Linked DNA regions of Homo sapiens: regions 2, 3, 4 and 5 are each linked to region 1. The links are contacts of gene promoters, found by promoter capture Hi-C in blood cells and fetal thymus (Javierre and others, 2016). All regions are on one chromosome and are shown on one strand. The core of a region is centred on a gene start or on the middle of the fragment in contact, and the rest is flanking DNA. Distances in the headings are between cores, read along the strand shown.

The links. The method cuts DNA at HindIII sites, captures the fragments that hold promoters and counts their contacts. A CHiCAGO score of 5 or more calls a contact.
Region 2: a fragment that was not itself captured here is called in contact with the fragment with the promoter of GDPD5 in region 1 in 1 of 17 cell types (naive CD4 T cells); the score reaches 5.3 in naive CD4 T cells.
Region 3: a contact is called between a fragment that was not itself captured here and the fragment with the promoter of GDPD5 in region 1, in 1 of 17 cell types (naive CD4 T cells). The highest score is 5.7, in naive CD4 T cells.
Region 4: a contact is called between a fragment that was not itself captured here and the fragment with the promoter of GDPD5 in region 1, in 3 of 17 cell types (activated CD4 T cells, erythroblasts and non-activated CD4 T cells). The highest score is 5.8, in activated CD4 T cells.
Region 5: a fragment that was not itself captured here is called in contact with the fragment with the promoter of GDPD5 in region 1 in 3 of 17 cell types (non-activated CD4 T cells, naive CD4 T cells and endothelial precursors); the score reaches 5.9 in non-activated CD4 T cells.

Annotation. Positions count from the first base shown.
Region 1 is chr11:75,524,120-75,527,515 of GRCh38, forward strand. It overlaps GDPD5 (glycerophosphodiester phosphodiesterase domain containing 5), which reads right to left and starts at 1,822. Exons shown (of 17, transcript NM_030792.8): 1 at 1,091-1,822. RefSeq lists an enhancer at 1,173-1,673 and silencers at 1,520-2,039, 2,090-2,149. The HindIII fragment of the contact is 5,380 bases long and covers 622-3,396 here.
Region 2 is chr11:75,365,280-75,368,838 of GRCh38, forward strand. No RefSeq gene overlaps it. Among named protein-coding and RNA genes, the nearest start is that of ARRB1, 15 kb to the left of the region's middle. The HindIII fragment of the contact is 5,328 bases long and covers 1-3,559 here.
Region 3 is chr11:75,298,787-75,302,523 of GRCh38, forward strand. The region is part of intron 1 of ARRB1 (arrestin beta 1); the gene reads right to left. Among named protein-coding and RNA genes, the nearest start is that of MIR326, 35 kb to the right of the region's middle. The HindIII fragment of the contact is 1,788 bases long and covers 1,457-3,244 here.
Region 4 is chr11:75,335,383-75,338,935 of GRCh38, forward strand. All of the region lies in intron 1 of ARRB1 (arrestin beta 1), which reads right to left. Among named protein-coding and RNA genes, the nearest start is that of MIR326, 2.0 kb to the left of the region's middle. RefSeq lists an enhancer at 1-376. The HindIII fragment of the contact is 3,357 bases long and covers 500-3,553 here.
Region 5 is chr11:75,319,340-75,322,879 of GRCh38, forward strand. All of the region lies in intron 1 of ARRB1 (arrestin beta 1), which reads right to left. Among named protein-coding and RNA genes, the nearest start is that of MIR326, 14 kb to the right of the region's middle. RefSeq lists an enhancer at 3,511-3,540. The HindIII fragment of the contact is 1,381 bases long and covers 1,166-2,546 here.

The DNA.
Region 1 (3,396 bases), core at 572-3,071:
CCCCAGCCCTGGGAGCCCCCAGCCTTGAGACCTTGAGCAGGTCCCTTCCTTCCTGGGCAGAGGTATCCTGCAGGTTCCCCTGCCCAGAAGAAAATGAGGTTGGACCTTCCATTTGGGCCAAAGGCAATGCGGTTGCAGGCATTCCTCGGGGCCCCAGCAACCAACCACACTAATTCTCACCACAGCCTCATACATGGTCGCCCAGATCTCACATCAGCGATAGGGAAAGCCCCAGCCACCTATCCAGAAGATCCTAACTGGGGAGGAGTGTGCATACCTTGAAGGATGCTCAGGAAGGTTTTCTCAAGTCTACTTGTGGCTCAAGGACTCACTGGCTTTAGGATCGGACAACTGGCACTCCCTTCGGGTGGGCCTCAGTGTCCCCATTAGTAATGTGAGGGAGGTGAGTCACGTGAGCCACATCTCCAGCCACCCCAGAGGGGCTACATCTCCAGCTCTGACAGACCCTTACTTGGGGATCTCTGCAGTGAATTCACCAACAGATAAGCACGTCTCAGGACCTCCAGAGTGTCTTAGAGACCCTGGAGTCTGACACACAAGGGCCAGGAGCTGCTGCTCTCACATCCTGGGCCCACAGGGAGAGAAGCTTTGGAACTGGGAAGCTTCCCACCTCTACCCTCAACTCTGAGTCACCTTTCCTCGCGGGTGACATGGCCAGGGAGCGGGAGGCAAGAAGAAGCCACTTCCTCAGCTTTAGCATCAGCGCTCAAGTGCTCTGCCTCTTCCCCCTCTATCCTCTCCCGCTTCCCCAGTCTCCTCCCCGCAGTGAAAGGAGGTCACTCAGCCCCGTTAAGCCTCAGTTTCTCCATCTGCAAGCGCCGATAATAATACACAACACCTATTTCAGGAGTAGCAGTGAGGCTTAGGCGGGGCGGGGCGGGGCAGGGCGCGAACCCGCACACAATGGGCGCTCAATAAGTACCCGTTTTCTTTCTTTCCCCTCCCCTTCCCGCGCCCCCTCCCAGCCAGTTCCAGCCTCTGCTTGTTTCCCCTGACACTCCCTCCGCTGGCCCCCGCGCTGCCGCGATGGGGTCGGGGACCGCTCCTGCCGCGCATCCGGGGCTCTCACCTGCAGCCTTGGCTCTCGCAGGCCGCCGGGACAGAAGGGGACCCCTGTGTTATCTTCGGGGCAGGCGCTGAACCCCTCACCTGAGGCGGGACGAAGGTGACAGCCTGGGCTCGCGGCACCAGCCCGGCGGTTCGGTCCGACTGTCCTGCCCGCCTAGGACCCCTCACCGAGCGCACGACCCGGCCAGGGCTTCCCGGGCGCTCGCGCTGTTCCAAGCTGTTCCAACTGAAGGTTGGGGTCTCGTGAAGCCAGAGGCTGGGGGGGTCCGGGGTCCCGTGCACCGGAGGCGAGGGCCTGGGGCCACACTGCGCTAGCCCTGGAGCTGGGGTTCCGACCCTCACTGACGGAAAGGCGCGGAGCGACCCTGCAACCACGGACCGGTACGGCGGCGTTAGGAGCGTCCCGTCCCGGCGCAGCGGGTCAGGGCCGGGGCTCCGCGCGTCCCGGCCGCACGCCCCGAACCGCGGGGCTGGGACGGGCAGGGCAGGGCAGGCGCCGGCGGGGAGGCGCGGCGGCCGGAGCCCCGCGGGGAAGTCTTTCCAGGTCCCGACTCGGCTCTCTCTGCAAAACGGGGCGAACCTCGGCGCGGCGGCCGACTCCCGAGCTCCCGGCCGCGGCTCCACTTCCTCCTCTTCCCCTGCTCCCTCGCCGCTCGCTCAGCGCCGCGCCGCTGCCACCTCCGCTGTCATCCCCGCCACCCACCCCCACCGGAGCCGCAGCCCGAGCTCAGCCGAAACAGCGCCGCCCAGCGCCCCAGCGCCAGCCTGCGCGGCCCCGCCCGGACGGGGCGGAGTCAGCAGAGACCCCGCCCCCGGCCGGCTGCGGGCAGGGGCGGGGTGCGCGCCCTCTCCCCTTCCCGGGCCTCGCGCGTGGGGCCGCAGGAGCCAATCCGAGGGTGGGAGCGGAGCGGCGCCCTGCGGAAAGCGGATTCTACCTCGGAGAGGGCGGGGCGGACAATGGAGAGGTGCGGCTGCAAGAGGACAATGGCGGGGCTGGGGGTTCGGAACGGGCCGAATCGGGGAGGGGGTTGGCCTCGGGACCCGGAAGGAGGGAGAGGCGAGAGGGCTGGCTTGCCTGGGACGGGGGCATGGGGACTGCTGTGCGGGGATTGCGGGGGTCACGGGGAAGGAGCAGGGGCCAGTGTAGGAAAAGAAGCCGGGGCGAGGCAAGGTGGAGGATATCCGGGGTCAGGGGTCCCAGGGACGCTGGAGCGAGCCCTCCTGAGTGGTGGGATGCCACCGACACCTTGCTTCTCCCTAGCTTCTAGTGCTCGGCGCTCAGAGGTGAGAGTTGGGCTGGGAAGTGTTCAGATTTCAGGAAACGGTGAAAAATAAGTTTTTGGAAATGAGCGAATTTGTCTTCCACAAGCCTCCCTTCCCTGCGCCCATCCCCGAGGAGGAGCGTCGTGGTCAATTTTAAAAATACGAACTCAAGAGCAGAGTTGTGTGAGGACACACACTTCGAATCGTGATGCATCTGCAGTCCGCTCCCGCCCCTTCCCACCCCGCGCGTTGGGTGCAGGAGCCGTCTTTATTTTCTATTTCATTTTATTTTGAGACAGGGTCCCGCTCTGTGGCCCAGGCTGGAGTGCAGTGGCACTATCACGGCTCACTGCAGCCTCGAACTTCCAGGCTAAAGAGATCCTCCCACCTGTGCCTCCGGAGTAGCTGTGACTACAGGCGTGCACCACCACATCTGGCTAATTTTTAAATTTTTTGTAGAGACAGGGTCTCCCTATGTTTTCCAGGCTGGTCTCGATCTCCTGGGTTCCGGCGATCCTCCTGCCTCGACCTCCCAAAGTGCTGAGATTATAGGTGTGAGCCCTGTGCTTGGCCAAGGAGCCGTCTTCAGTGTGTGCACAGGACCAGGCGCAGAGAAGGTGTTGGAGGGAACTGATGTATGAATGAAAGTTGAATGTGTGCCGCGGGGGAGTGGGGTAGGGACCATGTGAAAGCCGCTAACTGGCCTGGGGAGCTAAGGGATGTTGGTGGCACAGTACAGTCTCTTTGTAAACCTCACACCAACCTTATGTTGTGATAGGTACCCCATTTCACAGATGAGGACTCAGCACAGAGAGGCTAAGTGACGTTCCCGAGACCACACAGCTGGCACAGAGTTCTATCCACCCATCATTATCAAATTCTAGGGTAAAGCTGTGTGGCTTTAACAGGTTACTCTCCCTCTCTGAGCCTCTGTTTCCTCATCTATAAAAGAAGAATAAAGGTGCTACTTGGCAGGGAACCAGGTGAGGGACTGGGCAGGCAGCAGGCTTCAGAGGGTGAAGCATGGGCATTCCCTGCAAAAGA
Region 2 (3,559 bases), core at 56-2,555, 160 kb before region 1:
GATTCATAAAACAAGAAAGAACTGCTAATAAAGGGATCAATTAGACAACATGAAAGAGTCCTGGGAAATAAAAAACATGATTGCCCAGATAAAAAATATAATTAAAAAGTCTAGAAGTGGCAGGGCACGGTGGGTCACGCCTGTAATCCCAGCACTTTGGGAGGCCGAGGCAGGTGGATCACGAGGTCAGGAGATCAAGACCATCCTGGCTACATGGTGAAACCCCGTCTTTACTAAAAAATACAAAAAATTAGCAGGGCATGGTGGTGGGCGCCTGTAGTCCCAGCTACTTGGGAGGCTGAGGCAGGAGAATGGCACGAACCCAGGAGGCAGAGCTTGCAGTGAGCCAAGATCGCACCACTGCACTCCAGCCTGGGCAACAGAGTGAGACTCCGTCTCAAAAAAAAAAAAAAAAAAAAAAAAATTCTAGAAGCTAGTGCCAGAAAATAAGGAAGCACTGAAAAAAAAAAAAAAAAAAAAGGAACCTGAAAGAGCTCTCAATAGCCAAAACCGGAACAGTATGAGCAACAAAATAAATAAGGTCATATTGGATTATAACCCAAAGTATAAAATAAATAAACATGAGTCCATAGTGGTCTAAATAAATGGTTGAATAAATAAATACATGGCAGGAAAGGACAGATCTTCCTTACAGGGGAATACCAAATAATATATAGATATACTCTCCCCTCCAGATGGAGTTGAATTAGCCCTCTTGCCTTGAATGTGTGCTGGACTTAGTGACTCACTTCCAAAGAACAGAGTATGGATAGGGAAAAAAATAGTAACTTTAAAGTGGAGAAATCTGGCAAACACTTGAAGTGATCAGGGTTACGTCACCAGCTGATATCATGTGATGAGCCAGACACTCCACTGTTGTGATATTCTCCCCCAAAATACCTAACTCCAGCCTAATCATAAGAAAAATTCCAAATTGAGGAACATTCTGCGGAATACCTGACCAGCCCTCTTAAAACTGTGAAAATGATTTTAAAAACAAGGAAAGACTGAGAAATTGTCACAGAGGAGACCAAGGAGACATGAGGACTAAATACGGTGGGAAATACTGGAGTGGGTCCTGGAACAGAAAAGGACATTAGTAGGAAAACTAGTGAAAATCTGGAGTTTCATTAATAGTAATATATGAATGTTAACTTCTTAGTTTTGATGGACCACAGTTATGTAATGCCACGGACCCTGGTGGACTGAACAAAGGAGGGCAAACATGGGAATAAAAACAAAGACAAGGCCAGGCGTGGTGGTTCACGCCTGTAATCCCAGCACTTTGGGAGGTCGAGGCAGGCAGATCACGAGGTCAGGAGATCGAGACCATCCTGGCTAACACGGTGAAACCCTATCTCTACTAAAACTACAAAAAATTAGCCAGGCGTGGTGGTGGGCACCTGTAGTCCCAGCTACTTGACAGGCTGAGGCAGGAGAATGGCGTAAACCCATGAGGCGGAGCTTGCAGTGAGCCAAGATCGCTCCACCGCACTCCAGCCTGGGCAACAGAGCGAGACTCCCTCTCAAAAAAAAAAAAAAAAAAAAAAAAAATCAAAGGCAAAAGAGTATATTTGGAAGAAGGGGTTAGGGGGCTCCTTGCTTCTAGTGAACAAGGGCCCTGAGCTTCTAGAGCCCTTTGTATTTACTAAGTAAAGGAGATAAGGAGAAGGGGGTGGTTGTCGGTCAGCTGCTTGACTTAGTACATGGCCTGCATGACTACATTCTTTGAAGACTAGGCTCCAGATGTCCCCATAGATAACCTCAAGGAGCACGGCACCAGGGAGTGACTGCCCTCAGCATACCTTCTGGTAGCAGGTGCAGGTGCGAGTTTGCCCACATTCTGTATTCATGATAAACAGTTTGCTGTTTGATCATATAGCCTCCAGTGGAATGCTGAGTTGGTCACAACGCTCAGGCTTTCGGCTCCCATCAATGTAAGATGCTCACATTAGAAGAAAGTGGGTGAAGGGTATATGGGAACTTTGTATATTATCTTTGCAACTTTTCTAAAACCCTTTTTTTTTTTTTGAGATGGAGTCTTGCTCTGTCACCCAGGCTGGAGGGCAGTGGCGCAATCTCGGCTCACTGCAGCCTCTGCCTCCCGAGTAGCTGGGACAACAGGCGCCTGACACCACTCCCAGCTAATTTTTGTATTTTTAGTAGAGATGGGGTTTCACCATATTGACCTGGCTAGTCTTGAACTCCTAACCTCAAGTGATCCACCCACTTTGGCCTCCCAAAGTGCTGGGATTACAAGCATGAGCCACTGCACCCAGCATCCTACAAATCTAAAATTACTCCAAAATAAAAAATTTATGTGAAAAAGTGGCTGGGTACAGTAGCTCATGCCTGTAATCCCAGCACTTTGGAAGGCTGAGACAGACGGATCACCTGAGGTCAGGAGTTTGAGACCTGGGCCAACATGGAGAACCCCATCTCTCCACTAAAAATACAAAAACTAGCTGGGTGTGGTGGCGCATGCCTGTAATCCCAGCTACTCAGAAGGCTGAGGCAGGAGAGAATTGGTTGAACCTGAGGGGGGCGTGGAGGGGGCAGGTTGTAGTGAGCCAAGATCACACCACTGCACTCCAGCCTGGGGCAGCAGAACGAGGCTCTGACTCAAAAAAAAAAAAAATTCATATAGTTCTCCAAAAATATAGAGACAAAAAATAATTCTTTATTTTACCTTTTTTTTTTTTTTTTTTTTTTTAAGACAAGGTCTCACTCTGTTGCCCAGGCTGGAAGGCAGTGGCACAATCATGGCAGCCTTGACACCTAGGCTCATATGATCCTTCCACCTCAACCTCCCAAGTAGTTGGGACTACAGGTGCATGCCACCATACCTGGCTAATTTTTTACCTTTTATAGAGACAGGGTCTCACTATGTTGTCCAGGCTGGTCTTGAACTCCTGGGCTCAAGTAATCCCCCTGCCTCAGCCTCCCAAAGTGCTGGAATTACAAGTGTGAGCCACCATGCCCAGACACAATATTTTTAAATAGGTAGAAAAAAATCAAGTCATAAAGCATCAATTCAGGAGGTCTGATATCTGTTTAATGAGAATTCCAGAGAGAAAAAAGAGCCAGAGCCGGGCGCAGTGGCTCACGCCTGTAATCCCAGCACTTTGGGAGGCTGAGGCGGGCGGATCACGAGGTCAGGAGATGGAGGCCATCCTGGCTAACACGGTGAAATCCCGTCTCTACTAAAAATACAAAAAAATTAGCCGGGCGTGGTGGCAGGTGCCTGTAGTCCCAGCTACTCGGGAAGCTGAGGCAGGAGAATGGTGTGAACCTGGGAGGCAGTTTGCAGTGAGCCGAGATCCCGCCACTGCACTCCAGACTGGGCGAGAGCGAGACTCCGTCTCAAAAAAAAAAAAAAAAAAAAAAAAGAGCCAGGCATGGTGGCTTATCCCTGTAATCCCAGCACTTTGGGAGGCCGAGGCAGGTGGATCACGAGGTCAGGAATTCAAGACCAGCCTGACCAACGTGGTGAAACCCTGTCTCTACTAAAAATACAACAATTAGCTGGGCGTGGTGGCACATGCTTGTAATCCCAGCT
Region 3 (3,737 bases), core at 1,101-3,600, 220 kb before region 1:
ATCAATGAATACATGTATTTTTTTAAAATTCAGTCTATACATACAATGGAATAGTACATAGGCATAAAATGGGATGAAGTACTGATTCATGCTACAACATAATGAACCTTGAAAACATTATGTTAAGTAAATTAACATAATGTTAATTATGTTAATTTAACATAATTAACATAATTCTGTTAACAGAAGGCTGCATATTATATGATTCCACTTGCATTAAATGTTCAGAGTAGGCAAATTGATAGAGACAGAAGGTAAATTAGTGGTTGCCAAGGGTTGATGGGAGTGGGAAATGGGGAGTGACTGCTAATTGGTACAGAGTTCTTTGGGAGGTGATGAAAATGTTCTGGAATTGGATAGTGGTGATGGTTATACAAACTTGTGAATATATACAAAAACCACTGAATTTTACCCTAAAAGTGTGAATATTATGGTATATTACATCTCAATTAAAAAAAAAAACAACTAAAAAAAGACAGAGAGAATGAAAAAAAGGAAATGTGCCTAAATACTGACAGGAGTTGAAGAAGACTCCGCCCACCCACACGCTTCTTTATACCTATAATTTTTCTGTTATACAATGAGCATAAAGTACTTTATAAAGATGCTTGGATTTCCCTAACAAGATATGTCTCAAGTCTTGGAGAAAGGAGAATCTAGGAAAAAAAAAAAAAAGTAAGTGAAGTAGGGAAAATCTGGACCCTAAACTCTGAATGCTTTGATGTAAGAGTCTCTGGTTCTGTGATTTTACAATCCAGGATCCATGTTTCTGTGAATCCTGAGATCCCTCCCCAGGCCTAATGTATCGTATACTCAGCTATCCTTTTTCCAGGAAGCCTTCCCTGACTACCCTCTAAGTCTGGGTTAGGAGCCCCTCAGCTCCACATCCAGTGTGTCCCCATTCATAGCACTTACCATACTTTGTAATGGTCTGATAACACCCTCTGCTTCACTTTTATAGCAACAATGAAAGTAGAGATATTATTTGTGTTATATTCACTGTATTTCTGGGGCATAGCATGGTACCTAGGATATAGTAGGTGCTCAATAAATAAATATAGGATGACTATGGTTAAATGAATGCCCTAAGAGAATTATTCAAGTATGAGGATGGATGAAGTTTAAAAAGATGGTGGTAGGACAGGCGCAGTGGCTGACGCCTGTAATCCCAGCACTTTAGGAGGCCGAGGGGGGCAGATCACGAGGTCAGGAGTTTGAGACCAGCCTGGCCAACATGGTGAAACCCTGTCTCTACTAAAAATACAAAAATTAGCCGGGTGTGGTGGCACGTGCCTGTAATCCCAACTACTCAGGAGGCTGAGGCAGGAGAAACACTGAACCCAGGAGGCGAGGTTGCAGTGAGCTGAGATTGCACCACTGCACTCCAGCCTGGGCAACACAGTGAGACTCTGTCTCAAAAAAAAAAAAAAAAAAAAGAAAGAAAGAAAGAAAAGAAAGCTTATCCAGGTTATCCAGGAGAGAAACCAGGTCCAGTTACTGCTGTAAGTGAGTTACAAATATTAACTCACTTATTTCTCCAACAACTCTATAATAAGTGTTACTATCATCCCATTTCACAGATGAGAAAACTGAGGCACAGGGAGGTTAAGTAATTTGCCTAGGGTCACACAGCAAGTAAGCAACAGAGCTAGATATCAGAGCCCAGATACTCCAGCTCCAGAGACCACACTTTTAATCACTCACAATACTGCCTGAGAGGTGGGATTATGTGGTTCTGTCTGGGGAGTCAAAAAAGCCTTCAGGGCTGGCCGCTGTGGTTCACACCTTTAATCCCAGCACTTTGGGAGGCCGAGGTGGGCGGATCATGTGGTCAAGAGATTGAGACCATCCTGGCCAATATGGTGAAACCCCATCTCGACTAAAAATACAAAAATTAGGGCCGGGCGCGGTGGCTCACGCCTGTAATCCCAGCACTTTGGGAGGCCGAGGCGGGCGGATCACGAGGTCAGGAGATCGAGACCATCCTGGCTAACACAGTGAAACCCCGTCTCTACTAAAAAACACAAAAAAATTAGCCGGGCGTGGTGGCGGGCGCCTGTAGTCCCAGCTGCGCGGGAGGCTGAGGCAGGAGAATGGCGTGAACCCGGGAGGCGGAGCTTGCAGTGAGCCGAGATCGCGCCACTGCACTCCAGCCTGGGCGACAGAGCGAGACTCCGTCTCAAAAAAAAAAAAAAAAAAATACAAAAATTAGCTAGGCATGGTCGTGGGCGCCTGTAGTCCCAGCTACTCTGGAGGCTGAGACAGGAGAATCGCTTGAACCCAGGAGGAGGAAGTGGCAGTGAGCCAATATCATGCCACTGCACTCCAGCCTGGCAACAGAGCGAGACTCCATCTCAAAAAAAAAAAAAAAGCCTTCAAGGGAGGAGGTAGCAATGAGGAAGATCTTGAAGGACACACAAGGTGCAGAAGGTGACCACACTGCAGGCAGAGGCCTGGAGAGGGCAACTGAATCCACCAGGTGCTCAGGAGACAGCGAGCCTCTGGTGTGGCTGGAGTGTGCCCCAAGTGCCTGGGAGGAGCCCCAGGGGAAGAGGCTGGGCTGGAGAATGGTCCGTTTGCTCCACAGAGAATCACGGAGCACCTCTATGTGAGGGCCTTCGGCTAGGAGGGTAGGGCTGTGAAGGGCCTTGAGTGCCGGGCTAAGGAACTTGGACCTTATCCAGAAGGCAATAGGGAGCCATGCACATTTGAGGGGAGGGAGAATGACTGGCCAGGGCCATATTTTGGACCCAGAGATGCCCTCAATCCCATACGTTCCCCCATCCCTGTCCAATAGCAGCCATGGCTCAGCTGGGTAGGGTGGGGAGACGCAAGGGGGCATTCACTCAGACGCAGCCACCCTACATTCTGACCCACTTTCCTCAGTGTGAGAGCAGCCATCAGGGAGCAGGGAGGTGCGGGGAGCAGGTGGCAGCGGCTGCAGAGAGGTTCCTAGGCCCTTATCGCATTCTCCCTGGTAGCAGAGTTATTTGTGTACCGGCTCGTCTGCTCTGCCAGAATTTCCCAGCCCTCCCTGTGTCAGAGTGTGGCCCTTCTGTTTACCCACCATCAGTGCACCTGCTTCTCAGGACAGCCCAGGAGGGGGAAGGAGGCAGGAAGGCAAGAAATGTCACCCCATTTCAGAGATTTCCGGAGCCTGAGGGAGCACAGTCCCACCTGCTTCATTTCCCAGAGGGAGAAATCAAAGCCCGAGTGAGAGAAGAGTCTCACACCAGGGCCAGGAAGCTTGGGCTCAGGGAGACTCGCTAGTGTGCCCAGAGTCAGACTGGGATGGGGACCGCCGGCTTCTGTGGTTCCCGTCTCCTGTCACATCCCTGCTCAAATCTGCCATAGCTCCCAGGGCACAGGGCAGTGCCTGGCAGGCCAGAGGGGTCAGGGGTGGTGGCTGGGGAGTGAGGGGTTCTGGCCAAGTCAGACTCCTGGGCTGCAGACTTCCCACAGACTTCTAGGCCGACAGCAATTCCCCAAGCCTCCTGCCGCATTCACGGGTTCACTTCTTTGGCCATGAAGCATATTTTTGAAAATTCTCAGGTGGTGCAGAGTGAGGAAAGAGGGGGCCATGGACAGAGGGGAGAGTTTCTTAAAAGAGCTTGGCTTATTTTCTGTTAACCCATGAAGCTGGAGATCTGAAAATCAAGGGCTAATCAAAATTTCCCCAGGCGGGCTGGCAGCTGGATACCAAAGAGCCCACAGACTGCGCCTGAGCGCTGCCCAGC
Region 4 (3,553 bases), core at 928-3,427, 190 kb before region 1:
AAGACCAGCCTGGGCAATGTAGCAAAACCACATCTGTACAAAAAATTTAAAAATTAGCCTGGGATGGTGGCGAACACCTGTGGTCCCAGCTACTCAGGAGGCTGAGGAGGAAAGATTGTGTGAGCCCAGGAAGTCAAGGCTATAGTGAGCTATGATCACACTACTGCACTCCAGGCTGGGCAACAGAGCCAGGCCCTGTCCCTGTCTCAAAAAAAAAAGAAGCAGAGCTCAGCTGAGTCTCGGACCTGCCTGCGGAGGTCTGCTGCTCACAAGGGCAGCACTGCCAGATTTCTTTGTGATCCTGGGGCACAACCCCAAGAGGAGCCTTCCATGCCTGGGCTGGAATCCTGGGCCTGGAATCCTGGGCTGGCAAGGGCTGCCCTATTAAGAACCCCATCCTCAAACATTTGTAGGGTATGATACAGTTTACCAAATGTTCCCACATCCCACATCCACATCCCGTTTGGCCCACACGACAGTCCTGGAGGTGAGCAGGGCAAGCTTTATTGTCCCCCTTTTATAGACGGGGACAAAACATGAGACTTGCTGTGCACCTATTGCATACTAAAGATGCCAAGGGGCTTTCCACACGTGACAACTCACAGATACCCTGTGAGAAACCAAGGCTCACTCAGTGTCTGGGGCTGGGCCTGAGAATGAGCCTGCAGCCCTGCTCTCCCATCTCGCAGCCCGTGCCTCTGCCCTGTCTCATCTCAGTCTGGCATGGACAGCTCAGAAGGCAGTGGGCAGGCACGCTGAGACTCAGTAGGTTGAGGAAGAAGAGGCCTCCAGCTACCAAGGCGGAAGAGTAGCTGAGGGCTCAATATATTTAATAGAAATCAAAAAAGTGAGAATCAACCGTGCCCTCTCTGGATGTGTCTGAGGAAGAGCACATGGCCCTTGGGAGCCTGAAACCTGTTTGAAAGCAGTCACCTTACAGACTCAGGGCCTGATGTCCTCCCCACACCCTGCCAAGCTGCAGATGGCCCCACCCCTACCTCCCACTGTCCACATGCTAGGCCTTCCAGACCCTTCTGCTGACTCCTCTCAGCGCCCAAGGCAGCCACCCAGTGCTTGCCCTGGCCTGTTCAAGTCCTACTCCTGTCCTTCACTAATGCTTGCTTAATTCGTGGATATACCTACTCTACGAATCTTTATGAGAAGATACTGTAGGGTGACCCACAGTCCTGATTTGCCCAGGAGTGAGCTGAGGGGTTTCCTGAGATGCGAGACTGAGACTGTCCCAGGAAAATTGGGATGGCTGACGACCCTCATGTACTGCATGCCTGGTCCCTGGGCTGGGTGCCAAGGACACATTTATCTACCAAACATAGTCACTGCCCTCAAGAAACTTCCAGTCGGAGAGTGGCTGCCACTCAATGAGAAACCACTGTCAAAGGCACCTGTTCAGCCCCTCACACACATGATCCATCACCACCCTATGAGGGGAATATTATCACCTCCGTGGTATGCATAAGAAAACTAGGGCTCAGAAAGGTGGCACAATGTGCCCAGAGTCAGAGTTACAAGTGACCTGCTAAGATTTGAACTTGATCCAATGAAACAGAAAAAGGGCAGTTTCCAGCATGAACATTATGGAGATAGAAAAAGATAGACATGTTTTATTTAATTCATTTTGTAGCTCCAGTGTCTGGCATGTTCTAGGTATTCAGGAAATGCGTGAAGGGAGAGAGGGAGATCTAAGCCTTATTTAATTATCTCCAGGCTAGGAGATTCCATCCCTCAATTCAAAAGCCATACATTTCCCTTTTCAAAGTCAGTTTCAGACCAGGCACAGTGGCTCACACCTATAATCCCAACACTATGGGAGGCTGAGGCAGAAGGATCTCTTGAGCCCAGGAGTTTGAGACCAGCCTGAGCAACACAGTGAGACCCCATCTCCACAAAAAATCTTCGAGGCTGCAGTGAGCTATGATCGTGCCACTGCACTCCAGTCTGGATGACACAGCAAGATCCTATCTCAAAGGAAAAACAGAAAAGGAAAAAAAAAGTTTTGACTGTTTTCCTTCAGCACGAGGACCAGGAAGGAAGTAAGAAGAGGGAAAGGGTGCTTTTTCTTTAAGTCAGCAGCTCGGGGCTCACTTCCTCCAGGGAATCTTCCCTGACTCACTCCCTAACCCAAGTCTGGCCCCACACTGTGCCAGGCCCCAGTCAGGAGCTGGGAGTCCAAGAGACAAGAGATACACATTTGCCCTCGAGCAGAGAGGGAACTGACTTGTTAGCAGTCAACTACAATGTAAAGTGCCATCCGGGAAGCCTGCACAGTGCTAAGGGAGCCTGGAAGAGGCCATTCACTCTACCTGGGCAGGGAGCAGTCAAGGGAGGGCTTCATGTCTACAGCAGGTGCCCTGTGCAGTTGTTCAATGAATTTCATTGAAATGTCTTTTTTTTTTTTTTTTTTTTTTTTTTTTTTTGAGACGGAGATTCACTCCTGTTGCCCAGGCTGGAGTGCAATGGTGCTCAAGTGATCCGCCTGCCTCGGCCTCCCAAAGTGCTGGGATTAAGGGTGTGAGCCACCGCACCCAGGCTAAAATGTTTTTAAGTTCAACCTGAAAATATAAGGAATATTTCACCAGAGGAAGAAGGGCATTCCAGCTAAAGAGATCGGCTTGAGCAAAGGCACAGAGGCGTGAAAAGTACAAAGACTGTTGAGGAAGATCCAAAAAAGTCAATGCAGCCAGGTTGTTAGCAGTGTGGTGGGGACAGCTGGGAAAGGAGTGTGGAAGGGACATTAGAGACAGATCCTGAAGGGCCTCCAGTGCCACCTAGAGAATGGGGACTTTCCCATAGGACATGGGGAGCAGTGGATCAGGCCTTAGGCTGGGAAGAATGACCAGATGTGAATTTCAGAATAACAGGATGGCTTGGAGGGTTGGGACTGAGCAGAAAGACAGCAACTAGAAGACAATTGTAATGATCCAGGCCAGGAGTGGGGCTTGACCTGAGCCAGTGGCGGTAGAATGAGGAGAACAGTACTTTGGGAGCCATGTCTCTATCACCATTCAGTTTGGATCCCCTGAACTGGGGCTGCCCACAGGAAGGCATGGTTTTCTCTTCTCCAGGGAGCTCAGCACACCCCCATCCAGGTCTACACTCAAATGGAAGTTGAGGCCAGAGCCTCAGTGTACAGAAACTCAGGTCTTTCTGTACACTGGGTCAGGGCTCAGTGTGGGGCCAGGTCATGGTTCTTTGAAAGTTCTCCCTACTACAAAGTTTACTCTGCAAATGGTGAACATCAGAGGTGGCTGAATTGTTTCAAGTATGCACAGTGAATCACTGCTGTACTGAATCGCTGCTGTGGAACAGTCAGCGCAGGGAGAAACGACAACGCATATTAATCACTTGATTATGATGTGTAATCATTTTTGTCATTTTTAGAATGTCAAAAAAATCTGTTGCAAAAAAAAATCTCCTTATTGAGTTTTAAAACGTCTGTAGGTTTCTCCCAGTACCCTGGGGCAATAGAGACCCATCATAACATCAACCAGTGATGAGCCCTGCTAATGTGCTGGGTGCTTTAATTAGCACAGCT
Region 5 (3,540 bases), core at 606-3,105, 200 kb before region 1:
GAGGGGGCCAATCACTGGTGCCACTCCAGGAGGCCAGGGTGCCCATGCCCAGATGAAAGGTTCCTCACACATGTCCTAAGTGCCAGATCTGACCACACTGTTTCAGACTTTGCACAGGCTGCTCCTGCCTGGAATGCCCTTCCCACCCTGCCTCTCTGTCCAACTCTTACTCATCCTTCAAAATGCAGTTGGGCTCTGGGAAGTGTTCCCTCAGCACCTTGTCCGTCCTCACTGCTCCATCAGGTCACCCTGCGATTTCCTGGCTGCTCCTCCAGCCATTCACTGCACAAAAATTTAATAAGCATCTGCCCTGCCCCAGGCACAGTGCAAGGTGCTAAGGCTACAAGGCCGAGGTTGGGCTCTGTCAGGCCAGGATGTACGCTGGTTTCATCCCTGTGAAGCTCTGTAAGCCAGGAGGAGCAGACAGGGAAAGGGACCGTAAGGGTCCCCAGGGGGACCCCTTGGGGTTTGAAAAATTAGAAGTACTCAAATTCTACATTCCAGGCCACTTGCCTAGGTGGTGGGGTGGAGGGTAGCCCCCACCCAGTGCTTCCAGGCCTGGAGTAAAGATGCTTGGCAAAGCAGCACAAAACTCCTACCAAACAAATACGAAGCATGCTATGTACCTCTGTGTCAAGAGGCCCAGTTGGCTGTGAACTCCCCAGGAAACCGAAGCCCCATCGGGGACAGGGATGAGACCAAAGTCCCCCCCAGAGCAGGAGGCAGCCCTGGAGTGGTCCTGCAGCCTCTTCTCCCAGGAGATTTGGGCTTCAACAGAGGAGGAAGAGAAGAGGTGAGGTGCCCCCATCCTGAAGGATTTGCCTACAGACCCTCCACTGGTGAAGAGGGCATTAAGGGTGCACCCTGGGAAGCCACAGCCCACAGAAGCCCCAGGCCGGAGAGGATGGCTGCTGCCTGCCCAAGGTGGGGAGGGGGCTGGAGTGGAGCCAGGCTGGCGGAGGAAACATCTTGATCAGCAAGCAGGAGGAAAGGAGGAGGAATGAGAAAGGAGGAAAGAGCCAGACATGCAAACTCCTCCGCCTCCTCCTTCCAACCAAAACAGAATCCCCAGCAGACTGAGACCTGTGGAGAAGGAGGCGGGAAAGAAGCTGAGGCCTCCAAGGGCGGGTGGCTGGATGGTGGCCCTGAGGCTGGAGCCTCTGAAAGCTTGGGGGGCTGGATAGCCCCACCAGAGATGGGGAGGGATCAGTCATCAGGGCCTGCTCAGCTCTGTTCCCGCAAGGGCTGAAGGCTCCAGGAGGAAGAGGCCATGGGCTCCACATGGTAACTCCGATTCCTCCTTCGAGACCCCACTCAAGTACCCAACTCTTCCCAAAGCCCTCAGACCTGACCTCAGCTGGGCTGGCTCCAGCACCGCACAAACTCAAAAACATTGTAGAGTAAAATTCATCCTAGTCTCTGGAAAGCCTGGAATCTGCTAGGAAACCCAAGGAACCCAGAAGAGGAAGTGCCAGCACAGAGATGGCCCTGGACTCCCAGACCACTGGGCGCTGGGACACACTTCATTTCCATTCGCAAAGCCTTCATGGGGGCCTTTTCCTCTGGTGGGACAGGAGGCTGGGATGAGGAGACAGGAGGGGCCATGGGAGCTGAGCAATAGGGAGACATCATCTTTGCCCCTCTGCCCTCAACACAACACACGTGCACAGACACACACATACACTCACTAGTGGGGGCTAAGAGGCTCCCAGGGACCTATGTGTCTTGGACAAATCCTTTGACTTCTCTTGTTCTCTGTTTTCCCTCACCTGCACACCTGCTTTCCTGCCCTCCTTCCTTTCAGGAGAGGCACAAGGTAAAGTTTAGGCCTCCAGGTAGGTAAGAACAAAGGCCTCTGGTATGACCTCAGCACGTGGAAGAAAATCCCACCCCACGTGGAAGAAAATCCCACCCCATTCCTGCTCACCCCCCCCCACCACCATCCCCCCACCTCTTCCTCAGGACTCTATTATGGCAGAGTGAGCCTGGGAGGCAGAAGCTGTGGTCAGGAAAGTAGGCAGCCAGGCTTGGAGCCCAAGGGGAGAGTGACCACCAAAGTAACCCATCTCCTGTCCAGGGCCTTTTCTCTCCTTCTTCTCTCCCTGCTGGCGGAAACCACCTTCCTTACACACATGCTCACCACCATTTGAGAGAGGCTTTATGGGATGACTTTAGTCTGTGTTTTCCTTACAGCCCTCATCTGAGTTACTTGAAGCTGCTGGAATTTAGGGGTCCTTCTTTCATTCACTTTTTTATCCTAGTGAACTGGTCTGCCTTGGTTGGAACCGGCTAGAGGGCATCAGTCAAGTGACCTCCCCTCACTCAACTTGTTTCTTCATCTGTAAAATGGGATGATAGCAGTGCCCACCCCATCAGGTTGTTCTGAGGATTAAGTGAGTGTAGTGTCTGGCACCTAGTAATACACATTAGATCTTCTTATGAATATTCAACAGAATTTATTGAGCACCTATTGTGTGTCAGATGCTGTTGGCCATCAGACATATGGTGAATAGGGCAGATTTGGGCAAAGGGCCCTGTCTACATAAAGCTTCCCGTCTGGCCAGGGAAACTGCAGGGCTCTGCACTACACAACTCCTTTGGTTACCATGACACAGATCACAGTGCAAACAGAACACAGAGCGTTCCTACAAGCAGGTAACACAGCAGCCCTGCAAGACAGGCATCATACAAACAAGTATATGGTGACTCTCACAATAAATGCTATAAAGTGGAGGGCTCCAAGAGCCCAGGATGGGCACAGACCAGCCTAAGGAGTCAGGGAAGTCTTCCCCAAGAAAGTGACATCCGGGCTAAGAGTTGAAGAAGCAGCAGTACTAACTCCAAAAGGGACAAGGGCTGGGGTGCTGAACTGGGGCAAAACAAAACCAAACCTACCAGCCAGACGCCTGTTATCCCAGCACTTTGGGAGGTTGAGGCAGATGGATCACCTGAGGTCAGGAGTTCGAGACCAGTCTGGCCAACATGGCAAAACCCTGTCTTTACTAAAAATACAAAAACTAGCCAGGCATGGTGGCACATGCCTGTAATCCCAGCTACTTGGGATTCTGAGGCAGGAGAATCGCTTGTACCCAGGAGGCAGAGGTTGCAATGAGCCAAGATCATGCCACTGCACTCCAGCCTGGGCAACAGAGCAAGACTCCATCTCAAAAAACAAAACAACAACAACAAAAAACACCAAACCTACTATGGGAGGGTTCTAGGGGAAGACAGGGGAATCACTGAAGGTACAAGGCCAGCAGGGACATGGGGGCAGGGCCTGGTCACCAGAAGGCCAGATCAGAAGTGTGGATATTACTCTGTCACCGTGATAAGATGTTGGTGGGGTTTCAGCAGATAATTGACACAATGCAGTCATGCTTTAGTACGTTCACTTTGGCTGCTGGGAGGCGAATGGAAGGGCAGAGAGACTGGAGTGGAAGCAGAGAGACCAGTTAGGAGGCAGATTCAACTAGACTGCTCTGGGTTCAAATCCTAGATCTGCCGTTTATTAGATGGGAAACCTCTCAGGGTCTCAGTTTT